Linked DNA regions of Homo sapiens: regions 2 and 3 are each linked to region 1. The links are contacts of gene promoters, found by promoter capture Hi-C in blood cells and fetal thymus (Javierre and others, 2016). All regions are on one chromosome and are shown on one strand. Each heading gives the region's core, a stretch centred on a gene start or on the middle of the fragment in contact. The rest is flanking DNA. Distances are from core to core; before and after follow the strand shown.

Evidence for each region. Contacts are between HindIII fragments. The CHiCAGO score rates a contact against its expected background, and 5 or more counts as called.
Region 2: a fragment that was not itself captured here is called in contact with the fragment with the promoter of TMEM35B in region 1 in 1 of 17 cell types (megakaryocytes); the score reaches 5.6 in megakaryocytes.
Region 3: a fragment that was not itself captured here is called in contact with the fragment with the promoter of TMEM35B in region 1 in 2 of 17 cell types (endothelial precursors and megakaryocytes); the score reaches 6.6 in endothelial precursors.

The regions. Positions count from the first base shown.
Region 1 is chr1:34,982,935-34,987,344 of GRCh38, forward strand. TMEM35B (transmembrane protein 35B) reads right to left here and starts at 2,413. Exons shown (of 3, transcript NM_001195156.2): 1 at 2,264-2,413; 2 at 833-1,013. The coding sequence starts at 2,371. ZMYM6 (zinc finger MYM-type containing 6) reads right to left here. Exons shown (of 16, transcript NM_007167.4): 16 at 3,231-4,410. The coding sequence ends at 4,170. RefSeq lists silencers at 1,972-2,041, 2,102-2,391. The HindIII fragment of the contact is 1,524 bases long and covers 1,670-3,193 here.
Region 2 is chr1:34,775,572-34,779,981 of GRCh38, forward strand. No RefSeq gene overlaps it. Among named protein-coding and RNA genes, the nearest start is that of GJB3, 3.4 kb to the right of the region's middle. The HindIII fragment of the contact is 1,821 bases long and covers 917-2,737 here.
Region 3 is chr1:35,112,298-35,116,707 of GRCh38, forward strand. ZMYM1 (zinc finger MYM-type containing 1) reads left to right here. Exons shown (of 10, transcript NM_024772.5): 10 at 680-3,562. The coding sequence ends at 2,962. Among named protein-coding and RNA genes, the nearest start is that of ZMYM1, 35 kb to the left of the region's middle. The HindIII fragment of the contact is 1,440 bases long and covers 1,197-2,636 here.

The DNA of each region.
Region 1 (4,410 bases), core at 1,163-3,662:
GGCATATAGAAGAGCCTGAAGATATCTGGCCTTTGAAGCAACAGCTGTCTTTGTACATCAGCAGTTCCTGTGGGCAGAGCTACTTGAGGGGGACTCCCTAGGGAAATTCTCTGCCTTCCTGTTCAAGGTTCTCCAGCTTCCCTGCTCTCTACACCAATCTGCCAGACACATGCATCAAATGGCAGCTGCTCCTCCATCCCCTCATCCTAGGAGTGGATGTGTGGAGGAAGGAGCAGAGGCGCTGAGCTTGCAATATATCTTCACAAGGCAATACTATGCAGCCATTAGAATTGAGGAGGTAGAAGGTACACTTAACATGTGATAATGTTCTAGCACATTAAGTTTAAAAAGTACCTGTGCTAGGCCGGGCATAGTGGCTCAAGCCTGTAATCCTAGCACTTTGGGAGGCCAAGGCGGGCAGATCACGAGTTCAGGAGATCGAGACCATCCTGGCTAACATGGTGAAACCCTGTCTCTACTAAAAATACAAAAAAATCAGTCGGGCGCTGTGGCAGGCGCCTGTAGTCCCAGCTACTCGGGAGGCTGAGGCAGGAGAATGGTGTGAACCCAGGAGGCGGAGGTTGCAGTGAGCAGAGATAGTGCCACTGCAGTCCAGCCTGGGCGAAAGAGCGAGACTCCATCTCAAAAAAAAAAAAAAAAAAAAAAAAAAATACCTGTGCTAGTTTGAAGACCATGGAAACTGTGGTAGAGCAGAAAGTGCTCTTGATCCCAGAGAAAAAAGAAGGGTGGCAACAGTAAGGGGGAACAGCCAGGTCTTTCCATAATCCTCCCCCAGAAGACCCCATTTTCTCAGGCCAGTTGGCCCCCTTACCCATCATGAGCAGAATCAAGAACAAGTTACTGATCTCTTGCAGCATCGGTGGGCCCATGACCAGCAGCAACCCAGCCAGCAGTTCCAGAAAGCCCACAGCTATTTGGTAGTTCAGGGGATCTGGCTGGTAGCCAAATACCTTCAGCGGGAACACCTCAGCAAACTGCACGAACAGGGCATTCTAGGGGTGGCAAGGAATGCCTGTTAGCCTCATTGTTCAACAAGGATGAGCTCCCCAGATGCTCCATGGCATATCTATGCCTGTGCCCTCAACTTCCCAGAGAAAAGAACTACTACTCTAGGTCAGGTCCAGGGCTGAGGTCAGCCTGAAGAGGAGAGGGCTGCCCTGTGGCGCTGAGCTTTGGAATCAGGAAACAGGCTCCATGCTCCAAGTGGTACAGAGATTGATCTTCTCACTAGACCTCTCAAGAGATTACAACCCAGCCCCAAATCCCAGGAGGAGGGGGCTGGGCTTGGCTCCCTAGTGCCAAGGCCTGGGGAATTCCACAGTTTCCTTCTTTGTGTCTGGCCTGGTTTCTCTTAAGGCTGCTGTACAGGGAATATTTGGAGGTGAGGCAGAGTTAGGTGGGCTCAAAGTGACTCTTCTTGTCAAGGCAGGCCCTCCCCTGAGCCAAATGACAACTTCATCCTTACTTTCGGGGATACTTTTTCCTGTTCCCACTCCTCAGCTCTACCTCCCCTCCTCAGCTCTGCTGGGAAGCAGCTCTAAGCTGTCTGTCTCTGGGGATTTATCCAGGCCTTGGAGAGAGATGCCAGCAGAGGTCTACAAGTCTGGCTCTTTTGAGGGACTGGGGAGATTGGTGAACAGGATATGAAAGCTTTCCCATGAGTCTGGAACTAGACAGAAGGCTGAAAGACGACTTCAGGGCATCCCTCTCAGGCTTCCGAGAGAGGCTTCCCTCTCTGGGTTCCGAGTTAGGAGTGTCTAGCTTGTGTCCTGCTTCCTGACTAGATGTGCAATCTTTAGCAGATATACTTGCCCTTCAGGGCGGGCTTCCTTCCCTGCAAAGCCAGGATTACTACACCCCAACCCCACGAACCTCCCAAAAACTGAAGCAAACGGCGAAAAGAGGGAAGAGAGCGGGAAGTGAGCTCATTTTCCCACCGCATCATCCTCCCCCAGGGTCCGGGGGGGTGGGAGGGACCTCCTAAGGCTCTAGATTTGCCTGGGGCCACCAATATTCTGCAGGAAGGGGAGGTTCTGTCCCCTTCCGTCTAGGGAAGATCCAGAGAACTCGAGGAACTCCCCAGGCAGGACCTGCGCCTCAGTCGAAAGCCAGGCGCTTTCCCCCAGCTCCAGCTGAGCCTCGGAAGCCCGAAGGCGGCCTGCCGGGCCGGGGGCGAGGAGCGGCAGGGCGGAGCACACGCCGCCGCGGGCCCGATCCCCTGCCGCCCGCCCGCGCCGCTCACCATCCGCTCCGAAACTGGAGCCGAGATCTCCTCCGAGAGCTTGGCCAACCCCACGAGCGCGAAGAAGCCGCCCAGCAGTACACGCAGCACCGAAAGCAGGAGCGCCATGGCCGCGCTCCCCCCACCGTGGGTTGGCCCCGCCGAAAACCCGCCCCTGCCGCCGGCTCATTTCCTCCCTCCCCGGGGCAGCCGGAAGACTCTCGCCTGAGCTACCGTCCCCCACCCTCCAGGGGGTCGCGAGGCTGCAGTACTGGGGCAGGGCGCCCCCATCTTACAGGTGGGGACACTTGAGGACCACTGGCTGGTAACTGACTAAACAGGCACCTTTGGATTCAGGGAGTGTTTCCCAGCCAATACGGAGTGCTGGCAGACACGGGTGGGTGTCTGGGTGCGGTTCAGCTACCATCAAAAGACCCCGGGCTTCGTTCCTGCCTGTGCCACACTAGCTGTGGGATCTGAGCTGTCACCCACCCCAAAGGGCCTCAGTATCTGCATCTGTATATGGGGATAACTCAGTTCTCCAGAGTTTGTAACAGGCCTAGCACAGTGCCTGCACATGTAAGAGCTCAGAAAGTTATTTGTAAATTAGTAAATTAATTTATAAAATTGTAATAAATCAATAACCATTAATTATTAAATAAGTCTCTTTGCCTGAGATATCTTTTCCCTCTAATTTATCTCGGCTGACAATGAAATGTGAAAGGTGTTTGAAAATTCAGATACTTGCATGGATAGAGAGGCTTTCACTGAACCAAGCCCTACAGTCCACTCCTGGCCCATTTGCTCTTACCTGGAAATCTGTCTAAAGCTGGGATGGGCAAACCATGGGCCAAATTTGGCCAGATGTCTGATTTTTTTCCATGCTTCTCCCCTTCCCCCAAGCTAATAATGTTTGTTTACATTTTTTATGATAAAAACATTTTTTAAAGAAGCTTGTGTGACATAGGAAAATTATATGAAATTCATATTTCAGTGTTCATGAATAAGTTTTATTTAAAAACAGCCACACTTATCTGCATATTGTCTATGGCTGCTTTTGCACTGCAACTGCAGAATTGAGTAGTTGTGACAGTATGGCCTGCAAAGCTGAAAATATTTACTATCTGGCTCTTTATTTAAAAAGTTTGCTAAGCCCTGGTATATTGGGCCAGAAAGGCCCCAAGCAGGGGTCTCAAATCCCCCTGCTGCTTCCATTTATAGTTACCCAAGCTGCTTAGATCTATCTTTTTCCAGCTGGGCACGTTGGCTCACACTTGTAATCCCAGCACTTTGGGAGGCCGAGGCAGGTGGATCACTTGAGGTCAGGAGATAGAGACCAGCCTGACCAATATGGTGAAACCCCGTCTCTACTAAAAAAAATACAATAGACGGGCATGGTGGCACATGCCTGTAACCCCAGCTACTTGGAAGGCTGAGGCAGGAGAATTGTTTGAACCTAGGAGGCAGAGGTTCCAGTGAGCCAAGATCACGCCATTGCACTCCAGCCTGGGCAACAAGAGCAAAACTCCATCTCAAAAAAAAGATCTATCTTTTCCACCTACTCACAACCTTGCAGGGGTAAGTAGCTGGTTGGCTAGAAGACTGAAATGTTCCACTTGCTTCTAAAGGCCAAGCTGTTTCAACATCCAGGTTGTGCTGTTACATTATAAACTGGGCTTCTCATTACCTGCAGTCTTTGTCACTAGTCCAAATTTAATGAAATAACTAAATTTTCTACCCTAGATTATAATTATACATAATTATTTATAACAATCATAATTATTAAATTCCTCAACAAAAAGGGAAAAATTATTAAAACATTTAATCACTGAAAACACAAATCCACATTAGGAAATTATCTTTTAGGATACTTATACAAAACTTAACACAGGATTATTGACTTCACTGTTAAGCAATGTGCATATTGCTACTCTTTCTCCTTCACTAATTTTTCTATCCTTGGAATTAAAGATGTGACTGCAAGTCTTAGGGCAGGGCCAGAACCCAACAGATTTTTTTGTTTTGACTCAGTCAAAGCTGAAAAGGCAGCATCACATAAATAAACAGTTGAAAAGGGTAATAAAAATTTCATTGCCCTTTCATGGAGTTCTGGGTAACTTGTCTTTGCATTTATCCAAAACTGAGTTACAGACACTGATTTAAATAGT
Region 2 (4,410 bases), core at 577-3,076, 210 kb before region 1:
GCAAATTTCAGACAAACTTTTTTTTTTTTTTTTTTTTTTTTTTTTTTTTGGAGATAGAGTCTCACTCTGTCACCAGGCTGGAGTGCAGTGGCACGATCTCGGCTCACTGCAACCTCCACCTCCCTGGGTTCAAGCGATTCTCCTGCCTCAGCTTCCTGAGTAGCTGGGACTACAGGCACGCGCCACCACGCCCAGCTAATTTTTGTATTTTTAGTAGAGATGGGATTTCACCATGTTGGCCAGGATGGTCTGGATCTCTTGACCTCGTGATCTGCCCTCCTCGGCCTCCCAAAGTGCTGGGATTACAGGCGTGAGCCACCGCACCCAGCCAACAATTTTTTAATGTGTGTCCCATGTACTAGCTGAAATTCAGAATTAACTGGGTGTCCTGGTTGTGCTTTTGCTTTGTTCCTAAATCTGGCAACCCTAGTAAGTAAGGAGCTTAACATAGGTTTGTGATACCTATGTTAAACATCCTAGGAGAAAGTTTACTAACAGCTGGACACATGAGTACAGAGTTTAGAGGAATGGTCTGGGCTGGGGATACGTATTTAGCGGTTGTCAGCTAAATTTTCGTATTTTAAACCCTGAGACTGGATGATGTTACCAAGTGAGCAAGGGAGGACAGAGAAGAGAAAGAATGCAAGGACTGAGCCTCAAGGCATCCCAGTTCTTAAAAGTCAGGAAGATCTGGAGTAACCAGCAAAGGAGACTGAGAAAGAAAGTGCAGAAAGGAAGTAGAAAAGTCAGGAGAGTGTGATGCCTCTGAAGCCAAAGGAATAGTGTCAAGGCGAGAGGAATCAACTTCATTCAACGCTGCTGAGGGTTCAGGGAAAGATGAGGGTTGAAACTTGGCCATGGGGTTTAGCTATAGGGACTTTGACAAGAGCAGTTTTGGTGTCATATAGGAAGCTAAAGCTTGATTAGAGTAAGTTCAAGAGAAGATGAAAGAGAAAAAATGGAGATAATGAATCAGGACAAGTCTTTGGATAGATTTTGCTGTAAAGGAGTGGAAAGAAATGAGGCAGATGCTGGAAGGAGAAGTGGGGTTCAGGTTAAGGTGTCTTGTTGTTTTGTTGTTAAGATGGAGAAATACCCACATGGTAACAGGAAAGATCCAGTAAAGAGCAAAAGGTCAATGATGGAGGAGGAAGAGAGGAGGTGGAGGGAGGTGCCTGGTGGGTAAGAAGGGGTGCGTGCATATTAGAATGGTATGGTTGGCTCCTGACAGCAGCTCAGCAAAGTCACGTATTACCTCCATTCGAGGAGCAAGGTGTGTGGGCAGAAGTTTCGAGCAACTCTAGGTGTCTTGGAAAATAAGCAACACTCCAGCCCAGGGCCTCCCTGGAAGATCGCCTCCTCCCTGCCTGCAGCCCCAGACATGCCTGAGCAGGGCTCAAAAGCCCCCATCCCTCTGCCTGATCTGTTTCCCATGGCTTCTGCCTGCCCCACCTCTCCACTCAAGGAAGGAAAGGGCCTCATGCCTCTGCTGCAGACACACAAAGATAAGGAAAACTCCAGTCTGAGAGGTGGCAGGGGTGGGGGGCGGGGTGGTCTTCCCATCTCAGGAAGCACCTGCCTGAGGCCTGGGCAGAGCTCTAGGTGGAGAGGACAGCCTGGGAGCAGCACCGCCTGGGCCAGGGCCAGGGCCAGAAGAGGTACAGGCTCTGGCCCTGCCACCCCTAGAGAGCAGGTGTAAGCCCTGAGGGCAGCTGCCAATCCCTGGTGCAACACAGCTTTGTCCTGAGGCAGGGGGATGGCCTAGATGGCCTCCTACACATTCCCCTACTCAGGGAGCAGAAATTTAGGGCAGGACCACAAGGCATTAAGGTTCTCAGAGCCATTCTCTCTGGAATGGGGAACTCTTCCAGCTCACTCCAGAAAAAGCAAAGGCCAGTTGTTGGGGGCACTATCTCATATCAAGAGTGAAAAGCCAGCATCTGGCAGAGTCAGAATGACAGGACCTAGGTGATAAAATCACCTGGTTACCAGAGCAGAATAACCCAACCACACACATAGACACCACTACACACCACCACAACCACATATGCACACAGCCTCCCACACCACCCCAGCCATCTCCATCATCACACACATTCACAACCACACATGCACACAGCCTCCCACACCACCCCAGCCACCTCCACCATCACACACATTCACAACCACACATGCACACAGCCTCCCACACCACCCCAGCCATCTCCGCCATCACACACGTTCACAACCACACATGCACACAGCCTCCCACACCACCCCAGCCACCTCCGCCATCACACACGTTCACAACCACACATGCACACAGCCTCCCACACCACCCCAGCCATCTCTGCCATCACACACGTTCACAACCACACATGCACACAGCCTCCCACACCACCCCAGCCATCTCCACCATCACACACACTCACAACAACGCACATCAAAGCCTACACACACGTGGCCCACATACCACCCTTAACACACAGCTCTCCAGGCTTACACACACAGAAACAGTTCTCGCACATAACCTTATGTGCACCCAGTGTTTACAAATAGTGACTGAGAGTCTGTACATTCCAGGCCCTGGTAATGTGGCAGGAACGTGACCAGGGAGCTCCCTGCTCTCCTGGAGATAATTTCAGAGACGGCTGTGAAGAGTGTCTGCTGAGGAAGTGGAGCAAGGAACATTTGGGGTGGGGGTGGGGGAACCAGGGAACACCTCTGTAAGAAGGTGAGACCTGAATAAGGAGGAGGAAGCTTCCAAGTAAAGAGTCAGGAGAAGGCAGTCCAGGCAGAGAGAACAGCAAAGGCAAAAACCAGAAGGCTGACCTGAATGTGGCTTGTTCAAGAACCAGAAAGAAGGCCACTACAGCGCCCAAGGGGATGAGAGATGGGGGAGAGGCAGGACTAGGTCGCCTGGTGCCTTGGGGCTCAACGTCAAGAGAGTGGATGCCAGTCTAAAGTTAATGATAAGTCACTGTAAGGTTTTAAGAGGGAAGTGGCATGATCTATTAGGTTGGTGCAAAAGTAACTGCGGTTTTTACCATTACTTTCAATGGCAAAAACCACAATTACTTTTGCACCAGTCTAATAGATCGTTAAAACACTACTTCAGCTAGAAGCAACCACGGGAAAAAATGTTATTGCAGTCCTCAGAGTGGTGAAGGCATTTCTAATGACAACAAAACCCAAGGGCCATAAAAGATAATATTAATACACTGGACTACATAAAACATGTTTAATTCTGTATGGCAAAACCCCCGTCTATAAAGTCAAATCACAGGTGTCAAGAAGCAGCAGAGGCAGAGGGAATCCTTTCTATTTGTATCACAGACAGAGGAGGGCTTATTTCTTTAGTATGTAAAGAGCTCCTGAGAAATAAATAATAAAAGTCAACCATCCAATAGAAAAATGGCAAAGGCAAAGAACTGTTCACAGGATAACAAACAAAAGCGGCCCTTAAATATGTGAAAAGATGCTCAATCTCACTCATACCAAGAGAAATGCAAAATAAAGTATGATGAGATATCATTGACAAAGATCATAAAGCTTGATAACGCTCTCTATTGGTACGTATATGGGGATACAGGCACTCCCTTGTCCCTTGGAGTGCAAACTGAAACATCTGTGAAGACGATTGGGCAATATGTATCAAAATTTTAAATACACATACAACTTTAAAGCAAACATTTCACATGTAGGAATATGTCCTGTAGACACAATTTTCAAATGTGTTCAATAATGATTATCCAAGGATAGTCACGCAATGGTATTTGTAATAGAATGAAATAAAAAAGTGGAAACAGCCTTTTCATCAGAATAGGACTGATTAAATAGAGTACATATACTATTCAGCTGTTTTTAAAATGAGAGAGCAAGGCAGCTCCATATCCACTGATGGGGGGAATGTCTCATATTTTGTTAAATGAAGAAAGCAAAGTGCAAAAGAGTGCAGATAGCATAGCACACTTCCATAGGTTAAATGTAAAAAGAATATATAGTTGAATATGAACAGGTGATTTGGGAGTAAGAACAAGAAACTAGGGACCCTGGTGTTCAGGTAGGCAGCTCCGGTTACAGTCTGGTGTTCAGGGAGAAGTCACGTCCGGTGTTGGAAATGTGTGAATCATCAGTGAGTGGATGGTATCTAGAGCCCCAGGACTGGGTGAGCTCACCTGGGAAGGAAGAGACTGGGCCCTGGGACATGCCCACCTTAGAGGCCAGGATGTGAGGCCTGTGGTGTCAAGGAAGCACGGGGAAGAAAGTGTTTCTAGAAGGAAGGAGTGCCCCATTGTCCCAGGTGCTTCTGAAGGTCAAGGGTCATGGGGACAGAGCTGTGATTGCTGGATTTAGCATTATGGAGATCCACGGAGACTCTGATAAGCCGTTTTTAGTGACATGGTAGGGACAGGAACATTGTTCAAATGT
Region 3 (4,410 bases), core at 667-3,166, 130 kb after region 1:
CTCCTGAGTAGCTGGGATTACCAGCGCCTGCTACCATGCCCAGTTAATTTTTGTATTTTTAGTAGAGAAGGGGTTTCACCATGTTGGCCAACCTGGTCTCGAACTGCTGGCCTCAGGTGATCCGCCCACCTTGGCCTCCCAAAGTGCTGGGATTACAGGCATGAGCCACCACACCTGGCCCAGATTTTTTATATATATATATAATATATACTATAATATATAAAAATATAAATATATAATATAAATATATTATAATATATTGTATATAATATAAATATATTATAATGTATATTTATTATATATTATATTTATATATTTAATATATATTTTATGTATTATGTATTCATATATGGGGTGTGTGTGTATGTTTGTAGATTGTTTAAACAGAAGTATTTTTTTCCTCTGGGTTCTTCTTTTAAAAAAATACTACACAATTTGAGTCATCTGAGCAATAAAAATTATTTTTATGACAATTACATACCAAAAGGTCCTTCAAACATTTAATGCTGAATCTAGATTGCAAATAAATAAGTTATACGTAATTGTTAACGTTTCCCCCTAGTGGAGCTCATACTGTAACTCAGCCATTTATTTTACTATGTTATTAGAGTAGATATATTTGATATTTTAATTAATTTTTGAAAACTGTTAAATGTTCTTTTCTCATTTTCTCCCAAAGCTTTCTAAGAGTTCACCTAGTGAACCCAGTAATGCTGTTGCTAGTAGTAGTACGGAACAGCCAAGCGTTTCACCATCTTCATCAGTATTCAGTCAGCATGCAATTGGTTCCAGTACAGAAGTACAAAAAGACAATATGAAATCTATGAAAATAAGTGATGAACTATGTCACCCAAAATGTACATCCAAAGTACAAAAAGTTAAAGGTAAATCACGAAGTATTAAAAAATCTTGTTGTGCAGATTTTGAGTGTTTGGAAAACAGTAAAAAAGATGTGGCATTCTGTTATTCATGCCAGTTGTTCTGCCAAAAATATTTTAGCTGTGGAAGAGAGTCATTTGCAACCCACGGAACTTCTAATTGGAAAAAAACCCTGGAAAAATTCAGAAAGCATGAAAAAAGTGAAATGCATTTGAAGTCATTGGAATTTTGGAGAGAATACCAATTTTGTGATGGAGCTGTCAGTGACGATTTATCTATTCATTCGAAACAGATTGAGGGAAATAAAAAGTACCTAAAGCTTATAATTGAAAATATTTTATTTCTTGGAAAGCAGTGTTTACCCTTAAGAGGAAACGACCAGTCAGTTTCATCTGTGAATAAAGGCAATTTTTTAGAATTGTTAGAAATGAGAGCAAAAGATAAAGGAGAAGAAACATTTCGACTTATGAATTCACAAGTTGACTTCTATAACAGTACACAAATTCAAAGTGATATTATCGAAATAATAAAGACTGAAATGTTGCAGGATATTGTGAATGAGATCAATGACTCCTCAGCATTTTCAATCATATGTGATGAGACAATCAATAGTGCCATGAAAGAACAGCTTTCAATTTGTGTAAGATACCCACAAAAATCATCAAAGGCTATCTTAATTAAGGAAAGATTCTTGGGTTTTGTTGATACTGAGGAGATGACTGGGACCCACTTACATAGGACTATCAAAACTTATCTGCAGCAAATTGGAGTTGATATGGATAAAATACATGGCCAGGCCTATGATAGCACCACTAATTTGAAGATAAAATTTAATAAAATAGCAGCAGAATTCAAGAAAGAAGAACCAAGAGCTTTATACATACATTGTTATGCACACTTTTTGGATTTATCAATAATTAGGTTTTGTAAAGAAGTAAAAGAACTCCGAAGTGCTCTAAAAACTCTCAGTTCTTTGTTCAACACTATTTGTATGTCTGGGGAAATGTTGGCAAATTTTCGAAACATTTATAGGCTAAGTCAAAACAAAACATGCAAGAAACATATATCACAATCATGTTGGACAGTCCATGATCGTACATTACTATCTGTGATTGACAGTCTTCCAGAGATTATTGAAACATTGGAAGTTATAGCAAGCCATTCTTCAAATACAAGTTTCGCCGATGAATTGAGTCATTTGCTGACATTGGTTTCCAAATTTGAATTTGTCTTTTGTTTGAAATTCCTGTATCGAGTGCTGAGTGTTACAGGAATTCTTTCCAAAGAGCTTCAAAATAAAACCATAGACATTTTTTCTTTGTCTTCAAAAATAGAAGCAATTTTGGAATGTTTATCATCTGAAAGAAATGACGTATACTTTAAAACAATCTGGGATGGAACAGAGGAAATATGTCAAAAAATAACCTGTAAAGGTTTTAAAGTTGAAAAACCTTCTCTTCAGAAAAGAAGAAAAATTCAGAAATCAGTAGATCTTGGCAATTCAGATAATATGTTTTTTCCTACTTCAACAGAAGAACAATATAAAATTAATATCTATTACCAAGGATTAGATACTATATTACAAAATTTAAAGTTATGTTTTTCGGAGTTTGATTATTGCAAAATAAAGCAAATTTCAGAACTGTTATTTAAATGGAATGAACCATTAAATGAAACAACAGCAAAACATGTTCAGGAATTTTATAAACTTGATGAGGACATTATCCCAGAACTTAGATTTTATCGACATTATGCAAAGCTTAACTTTGTCATAGATGATAGTTGCATAAACTTCGTCAGTCTCGGCTGTTTGTTTATTCAGCATGGTCTTCACAGTAATATTCCTTGTCTCTCAAAGCTATTATATATTGCTTTGTCTTGGCCAATTACTTCAGCAAGTACTGAGAACTCATTTTCTACCCTGCCTCGTCTTAAGACATATTTATGTAATACCATGGGACAAGAGAAGCTTACTGGCCCAGCCCTAATGGCTGTTGAGCAGGAGTTGGTAAATAAACTAATGGAGCCTGAAAGACTCAATGAAATTGTGGAAAAGTTTATCAGTCAGATGAAAGAAATATAATACATGCTCATTTGAACTTACCTAAAAGACTTGTATTTCCATTGGGATGTTTTCATTTCAAAATTGTTCAAAATTCAAAAGACACAGAACGATAAACAGTGAAGTCTCCTTCCCTCCTTTAGAACTCATTTTCTCTTCCCAAAAAGTGTTATCTTTTCCTTAAATATCCCTCTAGAGGTATTTTTCCTAAGTGGTATTGTACGGTGTATACTGTTCTTCAGCTTGTCTTCTCTGTGTAACATATTTTTGAGATTGTCCCATGTCGTTACATGAAGAGTTTCTTGATTCTTGGTCTATAATTGCAGATGTTATTGTATGAATGTACCATAATATATTTGAGCAGTCCCTGCTGACATTTTTTTCCTAACCTTTTGCTATTATAAATAATGATTCATTTTATAACCTTTTATATAGGTCACATTGCACATGAGTGAGTTTACTGTAAGCTGGAAATCTAAAGTTAGAATTACTAGGTTAAGATATGTGCATTTTTACTTTTGATAGATATTGGCAAGTTGCCATCTATAAGGATTGTGCCAGTTTACAGTCCCACCCACAATGCATGAGAGTGCCTATTAAATCTTTGTAAGTGTTATCAAATGTTTTGATCTTTCCTAATCTCTTACTTTAAAAATGGCGTTTTAATCTCAGTAGAATTTTGTATATTCACTTAAGAATAAGGTTGGGGACTGGGCGTGGTGGTTCACACCTATAATCTCAGCCCTTTGAGGGCCTACACAGGAAGGAAGATCGCTTGAGGCCACGAGTTCAAGATGAGGTTGGCAACATAGTAAGACCTCATCACTACAATTTTTTTTTTTTTAAATTAGTGAAGTGTGGTACTGCACACCCGAAGTCCCAGCTACTTGGGAGGCTGAGGCAGGAGGATTGCTTAAGCCCAGAAATTTGAGGCTGCAGTGAGCCATGATTGCACCACTATGCTCCAGAGTCTAGGCAACAGAGTGAGACCTTATCTCTTTAAAACAAACAAGAATGAAGTTAGGTATCTGTTTATTTGTTTGAGCCATTTGTATTTCCTTTTTTGTAGACTGTCCTGTTTAAACGTTAAAATCACTGCTGTGGTTTTGATTTATACATCTCAGCTGGATGGCACAATAAATTATTAAGCCATGTTATGAAAATATAACTATATTTAAGTAACCTGCAAAGAAAAGACTATTTCTTTATACTTCAAAAAAGTTTTGTTTTTGTTTTGAGATGGAGTTTTGCTCTTGTTGCCCAGACTGGAGTGCAATGGTATGATCTCGGCTCACTGCAACCTCCGCCTCCCAGGTTCAAGTGATTGTCCTGCCTCAGCCTCCCAAGTAGCTGGGATGACAGGCGCACGCCACCACGCCTGGCTAATTTTTGTATTTTTAGTAGAGATGGGGTTTCACCATGTTAGCCAGGCTGGTCTTGAACTCCTGACGTCAGGTAATACGCCCACC